2 separate regions of the Homo sapiens genome follow, and region 1 is linked to region 2. Evidence: promoter capture Hi-C in human tissues and cell types (Jung and others, 2019). All regions are on one chromosome and are shown on one strand. The core of a region is centred on a gene start or on the middle of the fragment in contact, and the rest is flanking DNA. Distances in the headings are between cores, read along the strand shown.

The links. Contacts are between HindIII fragments. The study calls those that stand out against the background at their distance.
Region 1: a contact is called between the fragment with the promoter of KAT5 here and the fragment with the promoter of AP5B1 in region 2, in 1 of the 25 tissues and cell types used here (spleen).

Annotation. Positions count from the first base shown.
Region 1 is chr11:65,708,295-65,713,506 of GRCh38, reverse strand. KAT5 (lysine acetyltransferase 5) reads right to left here and starts at 1,255. Exons shown (of 13, transcript NM_182710.3): 1 at 1,062-1,255; 2 at 673-741; 3 at 449-585; 4 at 4-159. The coding sequence starts at 1,239. RefSeq lists silencers at 930-1,009, 1,020-1,209 and enhancers at 1,240-1,549, 1,580-1,699. The HindIII fragment of the contact is 8,771 bases long and covers 1-3,909 here.
Region 2 is chr11:65,778,574-65,784,316 of GRCh38, reverse strand. AP5B1 (adaptor related protein complex 5 subunit beta 1) reads left to right here and starts at 3,341. Exons shown (of 2, transcript NM_138368.5): 1 at 3,341-3,875; 2 at 3,975-5,743. The coding sequence starts at 3,726. RefSeq lists enhancers at 1,970-2,627, 3,357-4,259 and silencers at 2,888-3,627, 3,668-3,847, 3,998-4,267. The HindIII fragment of the contact is 21,769 bases long and covers 1-5,743 here.

The DNA of each region.
Region 1 (5,212 bases), core at 6-2,505, 69 kb after region 2:
TACCGTTGAGCGGTGGTTGGGCTGCAGGCAGGAGCTGGAGGAGAGCGGCTGGTCAGGCTCGCCACCGGGAATGGCCTCCCGCTCCTTGGGCAGGTTGAAGCGGAGTGTGATCTGGACCGGGATTGGCAAGGTCTTCCCGCTGGCCTGCGCCGAGGCCGGCTGTAGAGATAGGTCCAGGGTCTTCCTTTGGGGCGGGGATGGCAGTGGGATGGGGAAGGGGAAGAGGGGTCCCTCACCTCAAAATTATCAAACCCCACCCTCGCCTTCTGAAGGACACAGGACTAGCTACTGGACTCTGGGAGCTACATGTGCAATTTGGCCCCCATCCTTTGCAAGATGAAGTCAGGGTGAGAGGGAGCCGCCTCCTGCCCATCCAGGAGCTCCTAATGCCAACAGACAAGAGAAATAGGAGGCAGGAGAGAAAAGGTGAAGTGGGGGACCTACTCACCACCTCTCTCTCTGGAGAGCCAGGACGGGACCCAGGAAGTCCGTTCTTAGTGGGGGTCTTGGCCTCTTTCTTGGGGAACTGGATCTTCTTTAGGTCCAGCCGCTCATGCGTCACCCATTCATCCAGACGTTTGTTGACTGTAGCAGTGGGGATGGCTCAGGACAGAATGCCAAAGACTGTCCCCCAACCCTACCCTGATGCCCCACCTCAGGCCCAGAACTCACAGTCAATGTAATGGACGTAGAAAAGCTTCCGGCCACTGATGTCCTTCACGCTCAGGATCTCGGCCAGGGCTATGAGAATAGCATAGACAGGGGCCTTAGACAGGCCAGGCTATGAGACTCCACCCTTCCACGACCTGAACTCCACCCCCAGGCCGGATCCCTAAGCTCCAGCACTTAGGTCTCTCCTAAGCCTCCTTCAGTCACAAGTGCCACCCCTTTCCAGGCCCCGCCCTGTACCTCTCGGAGCAGCTAAGAGCCACGCCCCTTCATCAAAGTATCTGCGCCTCGCCCGCCCCATAATTCCAGACGCCCCTCCCCATCCCGGGATTTCAGTTGACTCCCGCCCCTCGCCCTCAGGTTCCTTAGTCCCGCCCCCCAACGTCACTCACGCCACTCATCTTCGTTGTCCTGGTTCCGCCGCAGCACGGGTAGGCGGCAGCCCTCGATTATCTCCCCCTGGGGAGACAGCGCGACGCCAGGGTCGGCTACTGGGGGGCCTCGGGCTCTACCCACCTCCCCTGGCTCCCTCCGCCCCGCCCCGGGCACCGGACTCACCACCTCCGCCATCTTCCCTCCCTCCACTGCCACTTCCGGCCCCTCTGGGAGACGTCACTTCCGGGACCGAGCGCCCTGTGGGCCCGGGCCTCACGAAGCCCCTGTAGAGGGGGACCTTTGAGAGACACCGCGACCCAGCTGCGAGGGGCAAGACTGCCCCTGTGACTCGGGGGAAAACGGAGTGTTACAAGCCTCAGGCCGAGCCCTAGGTGGAAACCCCATAACGTGCACAGCCAGTGGCGGTCTACTGAGTCCGTCACGTGACGCCCACCGGGTGCGAAGCTGGTCACGTGTATGCGGAGCGGGTCACGTGGCAATACCGTTTTTGGCTTTGTCGGAGGGAAGTCCTCGGGCGTCTCCTTGTGGCGGCGGGAGGTGTTGCCGGGAGTCAACTGGGCGCGAGAGGCTGGAGAAAGGAAGTGGCCTTAGAAGGGTTCGAACGCTCCCCCAAGTCTGTGGACTTCATTCCGTAGGCAAGAGGACTCAGGGAAGATTCCTAGCTTTATTTTGTATATTAGGCTTTTTTAATTTGTATATATTTATTTTTGAGACGGAGTCTCGCTCTGTCGCCAGGCTGGAGTGCAGTGGCGCGATCTCAGCTCCCTGTAACCCCCGCCTCCCGGGTTCAAGCGATTCTCCTGCCTCAGCCTCCCGAGTACCCAACTAATTTTTGTATTTTTAGTACGGGCGGGGTTTCACCATGTTGGCCAGGATGGTCTAGAGCTCTTGACCTCGTGATCCGCCCGCCTCGGCCTCACAAAGTACTGGGATTACAGGCGTGAGCCACCGCCCTCAGCCATATTAGGCTTTTTTTTTTTTTTTTTTTTTTTTTGAGACAAGGTCTGGCTCTCTCGCCCGGGCTGGAGTGCAGCCAGCGAGGCACAATCTCCGCTCACTGCAGCCTCCCCCTCCCGGGATCAAGTGATCCACCTCAGGCTCTCTAGTAGCTGGGACTACAGGCGCGCACCACCAAGCCTGGCTAGTTTTTTAAAATTTTTGTGTAAACAGGGTTTGGAGACTGGGCATGGTGGCTCACACCTGTAATCCCAGCTGCCTCCAGTCTAATCATGAGAAAAACATCAGACAAATCCCAATTGAGAAACATTTTACAAAATACCCCATGAATACTCCTCAAAACTGTGAAGGTGTCACCGGTGGAGGGTGTACAGGTTCTTGGCATCTAAAATAATGGGACAAAACGGCTGGGCGCGGTGGCTCACGCCTATAATCCCAGCACTTTGGGAGGCCGAGGCGGGCGGATCACGAGGTCAGGAGATTGAGACCATCCTGGCCAACACGGTGAAACCCTGTCTCTACTAAAAATAAATACAAAAAATTAGCTGGGCGTGGTGGCAGGCGCCTGTAGTCCCAGCTACTCGGGAGGCAGAGGCAGGAGAGTGGCGTGAACCCGGGAGGCAGAGCTTGCAGTGAGCCGAGATTGCGCCACTGCACTCCAGACAGAGCAAGACTCTGTCTCAAAGAAAAAGAAAAAAAAAAAGAATTGGACAAAATGCACAAAGCAAGGAAGGAATGAACGATTTATTGAAAATGAAAGTACACTCCAGTGTTGGGGCCGGCTGAGCATAGGTGCTCAAGGGCCCAGTTACAGAATTTGTTGGAGTTTAAATACCCTTTGGAGGATTCCATTGGTTATTTGGGATATGCCATATGTAAATGAAGAGGATGAAGTAAAGTTACAAAGTCATTTAGGGTGTACTCCCTAAGGAGAGGATATTTCCTGTCATAACTGAAGTGTGAATCAGCCTTATATGTTCCCTGCCTCCAGACCCTATTTTCCTGCCTCAAAGGTGGCTGAACATGGTGGCTTACGCCTATAATCCCAGTGTTACAGGAAAGGGGTCCCCATCCAGACCCCAAGAGAGGGTTCTTGGATCTCGTGCAATAAAGAATTCAGGGCGAGTCCAGCACTTTGGGAGGCCAGGCAGGTGGATAACCTGAGGTCAGGAGTTCGAGACCAGCCTGACCAACATGATGAAACCCCATCTCTACTAAAAATACAAAAATTAGGCAGGCGTGGTGGTGCGCGCCTGTAATCCCAGCTACTCGGGAGGCTGAGGCTGGAGAATTGCTTGAACCCAGGAGGCGGAGGTTGCAGTGAGCCAAGATCAGGCCACTGCACTCCAGCCTGGGAACAGAACAAGACTCCGTCTCAAAAAAAAAAAAAAAGAATTGAGGGCGAGGCCATAAAGTGAAAGCAAGTTTGTTAGGAAAGTAAAGGAACTCAATGCTGGTTGCCCATTTTTCTGGTTATTTCTTGATGATCTGCTAAGCAAGGGGCGGATTATTCATGCCTCCCCTTTTTAGACCATATTCGGTAACTTCCTGCCGTTGCCATGGCACTGGTAGGAGTGCAGCAGTGAGGACAACCAGAGGTCACTCTGGTGGCCGTCTTGGTTTTGGTGGGTTTTAGTTGGCTTTCTTACTGCAACCTGTTTTATCAGCAAGGTCTTTATGACCTGTATCTTGTACCGACCTATCTTATCTTGTGACTTAGAATGTCTTAACCGTCTGGGAATGCAGCCTAGTAGGTCTCGGCCTCATTTTACCCAGCTTCTATTCAAGATAGAGTTGCTCTGGTTCATGCAACTCTGACACCGAGGCAGGCGGACAACTTGAGGTCAGGCGTTCAAGACCAGCCTGGCCAACATGGTAAAACACCGTCTCTACTAAAAATACAAAAGTTAGCTGGGCACGGTGGCATCCGCCTGTAATCCCAGCTACTCAGTCAGCCAAGATCGTGCCACTGCACTCCAGCCTGGGCAACAGAACAAGACTGTGTCTCAGAAGGAAAAAAAAGAGGCCGTGCGCAGTGGCTCGCTCCTGTAATCCCAGCACTTTGGGAGGTCAAGGCAGGAGTTCGAGACCAGCCTGGCCAATATAGTGAAACCACATCTCTACTAAAAATACAAAAATTAGCTGGGCGTGGTGGCATCTGCCTGTAGTCCTAGCTATTCAGGAGGCTGAGGCGGGAGAATCGCTTGAACCCAGGAGGCAGAGGTTGCAGTGAGCCAAGATTGTGCCAGTGCACTCCAGCCTGGGCAACAGACAGAGACTCCATCTCAAAAAATAAATAAAATAAAATAAAGAAAGAAAAGAAAAAGATGTTGCTCAGGCTGGCCTCAAACTCCTGCCTGCAATCCGCCTGCCTCAGCCTCCCAAAGTGCTAGGGCCACCGCACCCTGCCATTGTTTTGTATATTAGGTTTCTTTTTTTTTTGGTCCAGTGGCTCACGGCTGTGATCCAAACACTGGGAGGCTGAGGTGGGAGGATCGCTTGAGCCCAGGAGTTACAGACCAGCCTCGGCAACAGAGCGAGACTCTGTCTCTACAAAATTTTTTTTTTTTAATTAGCCAGGCGTGGCGGTGGCCCTCGCTTGTGTTCCCAGCTACTCAGGAGGCAGAGGAGGGAGGATCGCTTGAGCCTAGGAGTTCCAGGCTGCAGTGAGCCGACCACTGCACTCCACCCTGAGTGACAGACAGACCCTGTCTCAAAATAAATAAAGACCTCTTGCCCTTAGGGCGCTTACATTTTTGGAGTTTGGGAGAGAAGAGGACAGGTATAGATTGTCCACCCTCAGCAATGTCACCATCCCTGCTGGGCCACATGCAAAGTGGATAGCAAAGAGAAAGACAGGACTCACCCTTCTACGTTAGCTCAGAGTTTTGGCTGGAAGGGTGTTACAAAAGTGTTTGCTTGAGAAAACTAGCGCCTCCTCAGACTGAGTCATCTTCAAAATAGCACTTGCTTTCCATTCTAAATGTCACCAGCACAGAGGACCCCAACTCCATTTTGCCATTTTCAGCAGAGTTTGCAGAATTCACGGAGACACATGGGTTGCTTTATCATAGGGACAATCATGGTAACACCTAGAGATGATGCACTTGGGGGTCGGGCATGGTATTCAGCACATGATGGGCATCCAAAAATCAATAGGTCTTCTTAACCACTAATAGTGTGCTTAAAG
Region 2 (5,743 bases), core at 2,092-4,591:
GGCCTCCCCTCGGCTCACACCCTCCAGTGGCTTCACTGCAGCTGGAATAAGAGCCTGAGGCCTGGCGTGCTGGGGCCGCCGTTGACCTCCCAATCCCCTTCCAGCTGGGTCCCTGTATGCCAGCCACACTGCTGTCTCCCGCGTCCCCTGAACAAGCCTTGGCCTGTTCCCAGCTCTGGCCCCTCCTCCCGATGCTCCTTCTGCCTGGAACACTTTTCCCTACTGGATTACTGGCCACCTTTCTTCATTCAGGTTTCAACCAAATGTCCCCTCTTCTGAGGGGCCTCTCCATCCACCCCAGCTAAATCCTTGTCCCCTGCCACCTCTGTCCCACTATCCTATTTTCTTTGCCACAACTTTGACTCTGTGGCGTTTCGTTTGTCTTTCTTGTTTATTGTTGGTTCTCCTCCCCACCAGTGCAAGTTCTGAACTTGAGGGACCCCTTTTTATTTTACTTTTTTATTTTTATTTATTTTTTTTGAGACGGTGTCTCCCTGTCGTCCAGGCTGGAGAGCAGTGGCGTGATCTCGGCTCACTGCAAGCTCCGACCCCCTGGTTCACGCCATTCTCCTGCCTCAGCCTCCTGAGTAGCTGGGACTTACAGGCGCCCGCCACCATGCCCAGCTAATTTTTTTGTATTTTTAGTAGAGACGGGGTTTCACCATGTTCTCCAGGATGGTCTCAATCTCCTGACCTCGTGATCTGCCCGCCTCAGCCTCCCAAAGGCTGGGATTACAGGAGTGAGCCACCGTGCCCGGCCTTATTTTTTATTTTTACTTTTTGTGCCCCTGCTGGTCTGGGGTGGGACCCCTTTTTAAACACCATTTTAAATAGCTTTATTTAGATAGAATTCATATACCATCAAATTCACCCTTTTGTAAGATGTACAATTCACTGGTTTTTAGTAACCTCACAGAGCTGTACAACCATCATCACTAAATCTCAGAACATTTTCATGGCCCCAAAGAAAACCCTGTACTCATTAGCTGTCACTGTGTCTCCCTTCCCCCTGGCCCAGCACCCACTATCTGCTCTATCTCCATGGCTTTGCCTATTGACTCGTTCTTTCCTAAGCCTTCCTGTATCCCCAGCAGCCAGTGCTGCGAGAGTGTGTTTGTTGTAGCCCGATTTTACAGATGAGAAAACTGAGGCTCAGGACCCCTTGGGAAGCTGACTTTCCCTTTTACAAGCCTTGTGTTTAGTGTCTGCCCACAACTGGGCTGCATGGGGAGGACAGAAACTCAGCAGGAGAAGAAATGAGGGAGGGCGTGGAGTGGGGAATTCCCAGCTCAGCATCCGGCAGTGGCCCACACCTGGGCCCTCGACTGGGATGTTGCTGTCCCGGGTGAGTCCGGTGACAGTCTGAGCTCAGCTCCATGCCTGGCCTTGCCAGGGACAGAGCCAGCACCACCCGCCAATAGGGGAGCAGACAGGTGAGAACAGGGCCCATCCAGGGACCTGGACACCCAAGAGGGCCGAGGGTACCTGGTGTGGGGGGAGGACCAGGTCAGATGCAACAAGGGGCTGTTTGTGGAAGTCGAGGCTCCACCTCTGAGGGGCTCTGTGACTGAGAGACCGTACCTCTGTGGGCTTCCCTTTCCTCATCTGATACCCACTCTCGGTACCTGGGGTTGCTGTGAGCCTCAGTAAGTCCATGCGGATTCGTCCACTGCAGTATTGGAGACCACAAGTGGGTTCCCTCCCTCCAGACCCTCAGCCTCAAGGAGTCAAGACTCAGGCAGGAGGTGTGCAGAGGCCACGCTGTCAGAGGCTGAGCCGGGGCCAGAGCCAGTGTCAGGCCCCCTGATCCTTGGAAACCTGTCTTCTCAACTCTGCAAGAAGTTTAATGATCATTCCTGCCTCACCGTGAGGGTGGTGAGGGCCGGGGATGTGCAGTTACCAGCACCCTCTGGGCTCAGACAGAGAAACCAGACTGGCTCCTACTGCAGGCTGCCTCCCCTCCCCAGGGCTGCTCTCATCCTGCCTCTTTCATCTTGGGTTTAATTAGCCAGGCTGCCTCACCCCACAGCCTCTTGGGTGGGAGTTATCACTCCCATTTTATAGATGGGGAAACTGAGGCACCTAGAGGGAAGTAGTTTGGGGCTGCTGCCTGTGAGTCAACTGTGGAGCCAGGGCCTAGAGGAGCCGGGACCGGGCCTTCTGGCTGGACCTGTCCCTCCGAGTGGGTCTCTATCTCTCCATCCCCAAGGGCACCCAGACAGCCTCCTTTTTGGCACTCTCCACCCCTCAACTCTCCACCACCTCCCATCTGGAGCAGGATGGGGTAGGGAGAGGCCAGCTGGCACTGGCTTGCATGGGGGCTCAGGCCTGTTTCATCTTCAAAGCGGCTAATTGGAGCCAGAGGGGTGGTGAGGTTTGGGCGCCGGCGGTTCTGTGCCCTGGAAACCGGTGGTCTGTGGGGCACCTGCAACCTGGGCCTCTGGCCTGGGAGAGACCGCCGCCCAGACCCCCGAATGCCCCCAAACAGCCAGAATCCAGCCCACTGAAGTCTGGAGTGCTGGGTTCCGGCCCGGCTTGGCCCCAGATCTCGGTTGGCAAGGCCGCCCTCCTCCTGGGCCTGTTTTCCCCATCGCTAGGCATGCCTCGAGCCCCGTGACCGGCCAGGCCCTGACAGCCCGCACTTCCCGAGTATGGATCCCGTTGTTTTCGACTTAGGGCCCTGCCCCGCCCTCGCCGTCACGACCCCTGCGGGCCGCCAGCGCGGCCTCGGGCAAACAAAGGTCAGAAGCTCCTGGCTGGCCGCAACCGCGGCGCCGGCTCCTCGCCCCCAAGCCGAGCGGGCTGGGGGCCCGGGCAGGCGTCAGGGAAGCGAAGCCAAGCCCTGCGGCGCCCGCCGGACCGGTTCAGCTGGGGCGCTTTTCCTGCGGGCGCCCTGCGACCGCACCTTGGTCACCCCCAGGGGCCACTCCGGGAGCCCCAGGACCCGCACCCACGCCCCCCGGGGCCGCGCGTCTGGCGCAGGGTGCGGTGTGCCCGGGCGCCGGCGGGGGGCGCGCTGGCTGCCGCCCTGCGCGGCTTGGCGGGCGCTGGTGGGACCGGGCCGCTGTCCGCCGAGGGCCGCGGGATCGCAGCCCTGCGCCGCGGTACCCGGCATCTGGGGCCCAGGCCCACCCCGCTCCGCCACCCCTACCCACTCCCCTCCGCCTTTCCTGCCCCGGCCTGCGGCGGTTTCGGGGAAGGGGGCCTGCGCGGCGGGACAGTTAGTCAGCCCCCGCGAAACCTGCGAGTCGACACCTGCGGGAGGCGGTGGCCCCGTTACGCCCCGCCCCTCCCCGCCCGGACTCGGCCGCCCCCGCGCCGCGCCCCGCCCCGCGCCGCCAGCCCGGAAGGAGCCGGCCGGCCTGAGTGCCCGCGGCGGCTGAGTCAGGCGGCGAGCGCGGCCCGTTACCGCCGGCGCCGGGGGCCGGGGTGGCGCTGTGGTTTCGGTGCGGGCCGCGGGCGGGAGGGAGGCGGCCTAACGAGCTCTCGGCACGCACCCTCCCCCGCCCTGCTCCTGTCCTGTCCCGCGAGGGCCCCGGCGCCCAGCTCTGGCGTCGGCCCCGAGAGCCCTGGTCTCACCGTGGGAGCCGGGCGCGGGTCCCGCCGGCATCTGCGCGGCGTCTGGGGGTGACCGCAGCCCCTCGGGGTCGGCAGCGGGCCCCGCGCTCCCGGTGGCTGCGGCCTGAGGGTCCCTCTTCCCTGCGCAGGGGCCCGCGCGCCTCACCATGGGGCCCCTGAGCCGGGACGCCTGGGCCCAGCGCTTGGGGGCCTTCCGGGCCAGCCCGTCTGCCTTCATGGCAGGTCCCGAGGGGGAGGATTTGGGTCGCGACCTGCTGAGCGACCTGAGAAGTGAGAAGCTGAGCGAACAGACCAAGGTAGGCCCCCACGCGTCCCCTGCGCCGTTCCGCAGGGTCACCCCAGCCCGCCGCGTCATGAACCTCATCTTCGTGATTCCCTCCTAATCCCCCATCCAGGTTTCCCTGCTGGCCCTGAGCATGGAGTACCCTGCGCAGCTGTGGCCCGACGCCTCTGCGGCCGAAGTGGCCGCCACCTCCCTGTTGGACACCTTGGTCCTCCTACCCCCGCGGCCCTCAGCTCTCCGTCGGCCACTGCTGCTGGCGGCCACCACTGCCCTGGCGGCGGGCGGCGCGCTGGGCCCCACCTCGGGCGCCTCCTGCCGGCTCCTGCCCCTACTGCTCGGCCTGGCCGCGGGTAGCGATCTGGGGCGAGGCTTTGTCCCCGCCTCGGAACAGCGCCCCTTGCAGGCCACGGCCTGCGAGTGCCTGCGAGAGCTAGAGAGCTGCAAGCCCGGGCTGCTGGGGGGCTCCCTGGGGTTGCTGCGGGGCCTGCTGGGGCAGGAAGGCCCTGTCCAGCCACTCAGCCTGTTGCTGGCCCTCGCTTTGCGCAACACCTTGGTGCTCCAGTCCCGGGTTGGGGCTGGCCTGGGGGGACTGCTCACGGATAAGGTCTCCCCAACTGGGGGTGGTCCCTGGGATTGGACACTAGTGGAGGAGGGCGATGGACGCCTTCAGCCCCAGGCACCCAGCTGGCCGGCAGCTGAGGAGGGAGAGGGGGAGCGTAGCCTTACAGCACGAGAGCACAGCCCTGAGGAGGCGCGGGAGCTGCGGGCTGCGGTGATCCAGCTTCTGGACACCTCCTATCTGCTCACTCCTGTGGCCCAGGCCCAGCTCCTGTGGCTGCTGGGCTGGGCCCTGCGGGGTCTGCAGGGACAGCCACCGGCACTCTTCAAGCCGCAGCTGGTACGGCTGCTAGGCACAGCACAGCTGACACTGTTGCACGCCATGCTTGCGCTCAAGGCGGCCTTTGGTGAGGCCTTGTTCACAGCCCAGGATGAAGCGTTGCTGCTCCGCCGGCTCACCTTGGCTGCCCAGCACCCTGCTCTGCCTCCGCCCACCCATCTCTTTTACCTTCACTGCGTCCTGAGCTTCCCTGAGAACTGGCCGCTGGGCCCTGAAGGTGAGGAGGCTGCCCCACTGCTGCTAGGGCCCCAGCTATGCCGTGGTCTCCTGCCCAGTCTCCTGCATGACCCAATGGCCCTCCTGGCCCGCCTGCATTTACTGTGCCTGCTCTGTGCCGAGGAGGAAGAAGAGGAGAAAGGCCAGCTTCCAAGCCCACGGCACTACCTGGAAGAGCTGCTGGCTGGCTTGCGGCAGCGGGCAGCCCTGGATGGGGGCCCCCGGGCCTTGGCCACTCTCTGCTTCCAGGCCTCGTATCTGGTGGCCTGCTGCCTGGCTGGGCAACCTACGGTGCTGACCCCCTTGATCCACGGACTGGCCCAGCTGTACCAAGCCCGGCCCATGCTGGCTCCCCACTTTGTGGACCTCTTGGATCAGGTGGACTCTGAGCTGAGGGAGCCCCTGAAGGTGGTGTTGCGGCAGGTGGTGGTGTCCAGGCCGGGCAGGGATGAAGCTCTTTGCTGGCACCTGCAAATGCTGGCAAAGGTGGCAGATGGAGATGCCCAGAGTGCTACCCTCAACTTTCTACAGGCCGCGGCTGCCCACTGCACGAACTGGGACCTACAGCAGGGCCTGCTGCGGGTCTGCCGGGCGCTGCTGCGGGCAGGGGTGAGGGGCGGCCTGGTCGACTTGCTGCAGGTGCTGGCCAGGCAGCTGGAGGACCCTGATGGGCGTGACCACGCCCGCCTCTACTACATCCTGCTGGCACACCTGGCAGCACCCAAGTTGGGGGTGGCCCTGGGCCCCTCGCTTGCCGCACCTGCACT